2 separate regions of the Homo sapiens genome follow, and region 2 is linked to region 1. The links are contacts of gene promoters, found by promoter capture Hi-C in human tissues and cell types (Jung and others, 2019). All regions are on one chromosome and are shown on one strand. Each heading gives the region's core, a stretch centred on a gene start or on the middle of the fragment in contact. The rest is flanking DNA. Distances are from core to core; before and after follow the strand shown. Region 1 holds the start of ZNF138 (zinc finger protein 138). Region 2 overlaps ZNF107 (zinc finger protein 107).

Region 1 (3,413 bases), core at 262-2,761:
TAGGATCTTAACTATGTTATTCAGGCTGCACTTGAACTCCTGAGCGCAAGTGATTCTCCCATCTCAGCTTGCCAAAGTGCTAGGATTATAGATGTGAGCTACCGTGTGCTTCTTCAATTTCTTAAGATTATTTCTAGCAATAATAATAAACAGTGCTATATGGGCACAAATCTAAAAGAAATCTGGCTTCTATTTTAGAAGTGTCACTCTCCAGGATTTCAAGGGTCAAATGGAGTTAATTCTGAGTCCCAGCCCAGCCACTTAATAGCTGTGGGTCTTTGCACAAATTTTTTTTTTTTTGATGTGGAAGAGTTATATAAACCACATATGCAAAAAAAGGCAGAATGATACTGATTGCAAAAATGTTAGCAATTTTTCATCCCTCCGCTATCCATGCCCATTGCCAGGTGCATTTACAGCTGTTTCCATTGAGATCCAGTTCTGTTTTCCAAACCCTAGATCTGGCTGGCCTTATTTGCTCAGGGCAGTAAAAACCTGTGAACAGTGCAGTGTGCTAGTTTGAGGCGTAGGCTCAAATGGTTTTGCATGCTTCTGTTTTTCTTTCAGAAGGCTACTATCTCCGCGAAAAAAGCCCATGTTAGCCAGATGGAAGATAAAATAGTATGGGGAGGAGAAGCAAGTTGCCTCTGTTGACAGCCTCAGAAGCAGAAGCTCACCCCCAGAAGCACAGCTGCCTAGTCAACAAGCAGCTGATGATACATGTCTGAAGGAACTCAGCTGAGGTCACAAGAATGGTCTCACTGAGCCCAGCCTAAATGACTAACCATCTCAATTAGAGTGAATTCCACCTGTTTATTCTTAAAGTTTGACTACTAGAAAATTTGGAATTCACATGTGCTCTGTAATCCCAGCACTTTGGGAGGCCGAGGCAGGTGGATCACCTGAGGTCAGGAGTTCGAGATCAGCCTGACCAACATGGCAAAATTCTGTCTCTATTAAATATACAAAAAGTAGCCGGGCGTGGAGGCGGGTGCCTGTAATCCCAATTACTCAGGAGGCTAAGGCAGGAGAATCACTTGAGCCCGAGATGCGGAGTTTGGGGTGAGCCGAAATCGTGCCACTGTGCTTGAGCCTGGGTGAGAGTGAGACTCTGTCTCAAAAAAAAAAAAGAAAAAAATCTCAGGCTGCCTGCTCAAAGGACCAGAAGCCAGTACGGTTATAAAATCTGGAATTTAAAAATAATTGTTATATTCAGATGTGAATAGCTATATGTTATTTATAAATGCATACGACCTTATACACAAGGTTAAATGCAAATGCCCTCTGGGGTGGGCCTGACTCAGCTCAGGGAGGAAGCCCTTCTGGAAAAGGCTGCTGCTTAGGTTTAACTCTGTCTTCCTTCAGCCCAGCACCTGAGCACATCTGTCACTCAGGGCCTGAGGGGGCGGGTTGTTAAACGTTATCCAATCAGGGACGCCGGGCTGGGAACGGTCCAATCAGGCACCCAGCTGGAGCGGACATGACGTCTTCCGGGAGGCGGCGGGGTCTTTGTCTCGCTGCAGCGGGTGCTGCAGGTCTGGCCTTCACTTTTCTGCGTCCTCTTACTCCTAGAGGCCCAGCCTCTGTGGCGCTGTGATCTGGTTATTGGGAGATTCACAGCTAAGACGCCAGGATCCCCCGGAAGCCTAGAAATGGTGAGAGTGCTGGGTCCGACATCCCGAGAGAGGGGGAGGGAGCTGGTTGGAACCGGTCGGAAGTGGCTGTGGCAGTACTCGGGTCTTCCCGCAGTCGGCTGCAAAATCCGCGGCCCCGAGTTCTTGGCACAGCTCGGCCCTCAGTCCCCTTAAGCCATAGCATGGCAGCTGGGCTGACAGCCGGAACCAGGCGTCCTGTCTCCTCCCTGCGCAGTGACTGTGCCCTGGCCTGGAGCCCTCTCTGAGCAGCTCTGCACCCGCAGCGATTGTGCAGAGACGACGGGAGGGTCGTCAGGGGAGAATCCTGACTCGGGGTGCTGGGTTCATGAATGGGAAGAGGTTTCCTCCGCGGGCTTCCCTGTCCCTCTTTTCCCCTATTAAAATTTATGAAAGTCACCGCAAAAAAATTAATTTAATCAAACAGTGATTCAAGAATTGTGGAGCACCCAGCTGTGGTTTGCAGTAGTGGTCCGTGGGAGGGGTTTGAAGGAAACACTTGTATAAGGTGTATGATAAAACCAAATTCAGTAATTGGTTAGTAGAGTTATGTAGTTTCTTAATTTGTACAATGAAGGAGGAAATTTCCTGGTCATGTAATCAGAGGTTAATTGGCAGTTTACAGTTGGTTAAACATGAATTTTATTTTTCACAAGGTAGTAATTTACAAAAAAATGCATTTGAGTTAGATTTTTTTAAAACCAGAAACCCTGGGACTGGAGCGACCTCAGTCTAATTGCCTGCCACTTAATTATTTTCACACTCCACAGGGGACAGATCTTCCCCTTCATTTTTCACATGTGTCCCAAGCAGGGTCTCAAGACTCCTCCCCCTCCCCATTTCCCATTCCTTCAGCCTAACTCTGGCTTGCAGTAAAATACTAAATTTCCAGTTCCTTCTGACATTCCCAAATGCCAACTTCCCCTTCCTAATTCACATTATCAACTATTTGTCCTTTAGTGTACATTTGAAATACTGTATTTTAATTAATCATTTTTTGACAAAGCATGGATGGCATTTTAAAAAAGATTTGTTATCTGTTTGTAAATATTTCCCATGAGAAGAAACCAAAGACTCATCCCCTGATGCTGTATTGTAAAAAATCTCTGTGCCTTTTTTTTTTTTTTTAAATCTTCCCTAGGTACAGAGATCTTATCAGAATATTTTTGGGTCAAGGTTTCCCTTTGGAAACTTTATAAGGTAATGTGTCCTTAGTCACTCTTCAGTTTTTTCCTTGGTCCTGGGTTTCAGTACTTTCTGAGGATAAATCAAAATATCCACTGTGGCTGTGTATGCTAGAATCTCTGGTAAATTTCAGCTCCTGGCCTGGAATGAACTCTGGTTATCTGGGAATGGGAGACAGAGGACAACCTGAGGTTGGAGTGTAGCCTCTCAAGGGAGCAGGTGAATGCCCTGGGGCTGAGAGGAATCTCCTGGTGTACTCTTCCTTTGAAAAGCAAACCCTTTGAGAAGTTAAGATTGTCTTCAAACCAACCCAGTGTCCATTTCCGGAGACATATTGCTGGTCAATCAATCATATGCTGGTATTGAGGGGAGAACACAGAAATAATTTCGGCCCACTGGATTCTCTAAGATTTGTGAAAGAAATGATAGTATCCAAAAAGACAAATCAAACCTTACCCCAGTGAGATGGTTCAAGAACTTGCAAAGTGAAATGTACTTGGGGCAGTCACTGAGGCATAGTGCAGCGTCTTCAGAGAGGGTGGTCTTCAGAGAGGGTGGTCGTTTAGCACTTAAGTG
Region 2 (3,413 bases), core at 671-3,170, 85 kb before region 1:
AACCCTTACTAAACATAAGAGAATTCATACTGGAGAAAAACCCTATAAATGTGAAGAATGTGGAAAAGCCTTTAATCAATCCTATCAACTTACTAGACATAAGATAGTTCATACTAAAGAGAAACTCAACAAATGTGAAGAATTTGGCAAGGCCTTTAAACAGTCCTCACACCGTACTATACATAAAATTATTCATACTGGAGAGAAACCCTACAAATGTGAAGAACATGGCAAAGTTTTTAACCAGTCCTCAAACCTTACTACACAAAAGATAATTCATACTGGAGAGAACCTCTACAAATTTGAAGAACATGGAAAAGCTTTTAACCTATTCTCAAACATTACTAACCATAAGATAATTTATACTGGAGAGAAACCCCACAAATGTGAAGAATGTGGAAAAGCTTATAACCGATTCTCAAACCTAACTATACATAAGAGAATTCATACGGGAGAGAAACCTTACCAATGTGCAGAATGTGGCAAAGCCTTTAACTGCTCCTCAACCCTTAATAGACATAAGATAATTCATACTGGAGAGAAACCTTACAAATGTAAAGAATGTGGCAAAGCTTTTAACCTATCCTCAACCCTTACTGCACATAAGAAAATTCATACTGGAGAGAAACCCTATAAATGTGAAGAATGTGGCAAAGCTTTTAACCAATCCTCAAACCTTACTACACATAAGAAAATTCATACTTCAGAGAAACCCTACAAATGTGAAGAATGTGGCAAATCCTTTAACCAGTTCTCATCTCTTAATATACATAAGATAATTCATACTGGAGAGAAACCCTACAAATGTGGAGATTATGGCAGAGCTTTCAACCTATCCTCAAATCTTACTACACATAAGAAAATTCATACTGGAGAGAAACCCTACAAATGTGAGTATGGCAAAACTTAATTGATCCTACAAGCTTACTACACATAGGAAAATTCATACTGGAGAGAAACTACAAATGTGAAGAATGTGTTAAAGCCTTTAACAAGTCTTCAACTTTTTCTGCACACACGAGGTATTTTATACTGGTGAGAAACCTTACAATGTAAAGAATGTGGCACAGCTTTTAACTAATCTTCAAACCTTACTGAAAGTTGAGAAAATTCGTACTGGAGAGAATCCTACAAATGTGAAAAATGTGGCAAATCCTTTAACTGATCCTCAACTTTTACTAAACATAAGGTAATTCATACTGGAGAAAAGCCATACAAATGAGAAGAATGTGGCAATGCCTTTAATCAGTCCTCACACCTTTCTACACATAAGATAATTTATACTGGAGAGGAACTCTATAGTTGTGAAGAATGTGGCAAAGCTTTTAACCAATCCTCATACCTTACTATACAGAAATTCATACTGGAGAGAAAGCCTACAATTGTGAAGAATGTGGCAAAGCTTTTAACCTTCCTTAACCCTTAACTGTAGATAAGAAAATTCATACTGGAAAGAAACCCTACAAATGTGAAGTCTGTGGCAAAGCTTTTAACTGATTCTCAACTCTTACTACATGTAAGAGTATTTATACTGGAAAGAAACCCTACAAATGTAAAAAACGTGGCAATGCCTTTAACTGGTCCTCACACCTTGCTACATATAAGACAGTTTATACTTTGAGAGAAACCCTGCAAATGTGAATAATGTGGCAATACTTTAAACCAATCCTCAAACCTCACTAAACATAAGATAATACTGAAAACTTTACAAACCTGAATGATGTGACAATAATTTTGACAACACCTCGAACTTTCTAACATAAATCATACTGGTGAAAAATCCTAGAAATGTGAAAAATATCACAAAGCCTTTAAATGGTTGTCACACTTGATTGTAGGTAAGAATCCATACTGAAGAAAACTCCTGGAAGTGTAAAAAATGTGGCAACACTTTTAATAAATGCTCACCCCTTATTGCACAGGAAAGCATTTATACTTCAGAAAGATTGTACAAATACAAGGAATGTGGAAAAGCCATTATTATCTGCTCAGATTTTACTCAACATTAGAGAGTTAGTACGTAATAAAAGCATTATAAATGCAATTTTTGTCAAGAGATCTTTCAGAAAATATAAGCCTTTAAAGTGAAGAAGAGGAGCCAGTTGTGCTGGCTCACATCTGTAATGCCAGCACTTTGGGAGGCCAAGGTGGGTGGATCACCTGAGGGCAGGAGTCTGAGACCAGCCTGGCCAACATAGCAAAACCCCATCTCTATTAAAAATTTTACAAAAATTAGCTGCGTGTGGTGGCAGGCCCCTGTAATCCCAGCTAATTGGGAGGCTGAAGCAGGAGAATTGCTCAAACCTGGGAGGCGAAGATTGCAGTGAGCTGAAATCACACCACTACACTCCAGCCAAAGCAACAAGAGCAAAAACTTCGTCTCAAAAACAAAACAAAAAAAGAGTATTCATTGTGAGGACAAACAATACAAATACGAAGAGGGTTGTAGTACCTTTACTTGTATCACAGATACTTTTGTACCCATTTTGCACTAGAGGAAAACCATGAAGCAGTTGCTCAAATGTTGTTCAACACCAGAAAATTTATATTGGAGAAAAGCACTGTAAATGTAATGCATTTGTGAAAACATTTTTTAAAAAACTACAGCTTAGAAAATACCAGAGGCCTCATACTAAAATATATTTTTGCAAGTGAAGTAAATATAAAAATAATTTAATCCAAAATTAAGTCTATATAAATATCAGAGAATTCACAGTAGAAATATCTAAGGTACTGACACTTCAGACATTGCTGAGTATAGAATCAGAATGCTGAGTATAGAAAATAATTTAAAACTAAAGTTGGTAGGTAAATAATGTGTATATAACTTTAAAAGAAGTAGAATTTTTTTGTAGATGTATAATTACATTCAAATTATATTTTTTCTTGAAAAATTAGTTTTTGAAAAGCAAATGATGTAATTCAACTCAAATTCATGCTCTTCATTCCTATTGTATTCACATGTGAAAGCATGTGATTAATTTTTCATGCATCAAAGATATGAGAAATCATTTCTGTTAGGTCGGTATTATTTATGACACTTTCTATGAAAGAATAAGGACATTAAAATGTAAGATGCATGATGAAAACCTGAGTGAAGAGGCTGTTTGTGTTTAACTTATAATATTGAGTGATCCATGAAGTAGGTTTTCAGAGCAATATTCTTCTGCATTATAGTAAGAGAAAACCATTTTTAATCTTAGTTAAAATTAAAGTGAATTAGTAGTATATCATTTTACTATTTGTACTTTTATGTAATAAAATGCAATGTGTTTAAAAATTTTTGGATTATGCGTGAACTTAGTTTTTTAATTAAACTTTTTTTAACATGTTAAAACTATTGTGCATTCAATGAAGTGTTTTCATGCCACTGACTTTACCTATCCCACATTACTCAAGGGTTTAGGTAAAAG

Evidence for each region. The method cuts DNA at HindIII sites, captures the fragments that hold promoters and counts their contacts. A contact is called where the count stands out against the background at its distance.
Region 2: a contact is called between a fragment that was not itself captured here and the fragment with the promoter of ZNF138 in region 1, in 2 of the 25 tissues and cell types used here (H1 embryonic stem cells and hippocampus).

The regions. Positions count from the first base shown.
Region 1 is chr7:64,792,917-64,796,329 of GRCh38, forward strand. ZNF138 (zinc finger protein 138) reads left to right here and starts at 1,512. Exons shown (of 4, transcript NM_001271639.2): 1 at 1,512-1,655. The coding sequence starts at 1,653. RefSeq lists enhancers at 1,238-1,287, 1,528-1,767, 1,552-2,112. The HindIII fragment of the contact is 15,546 bases long and covers 1-3,413 here.
Region 2 is chr7:64,707,747-64,711,159 of GRCh38, forward strand. ZNF107 (zinc finger protein 107) reads left to right here. Exons shown (of 4, transcript NM_001282359.2): 4 at 1-3,413. The coding sequence ends at 910. Among named protein-coding and RNA genes, the nearest start is that of MIR6839, 30 kb to the left of the region's middle. The HindIII fragment of the contact is 5,049 bases long and covers 1-3,413 here.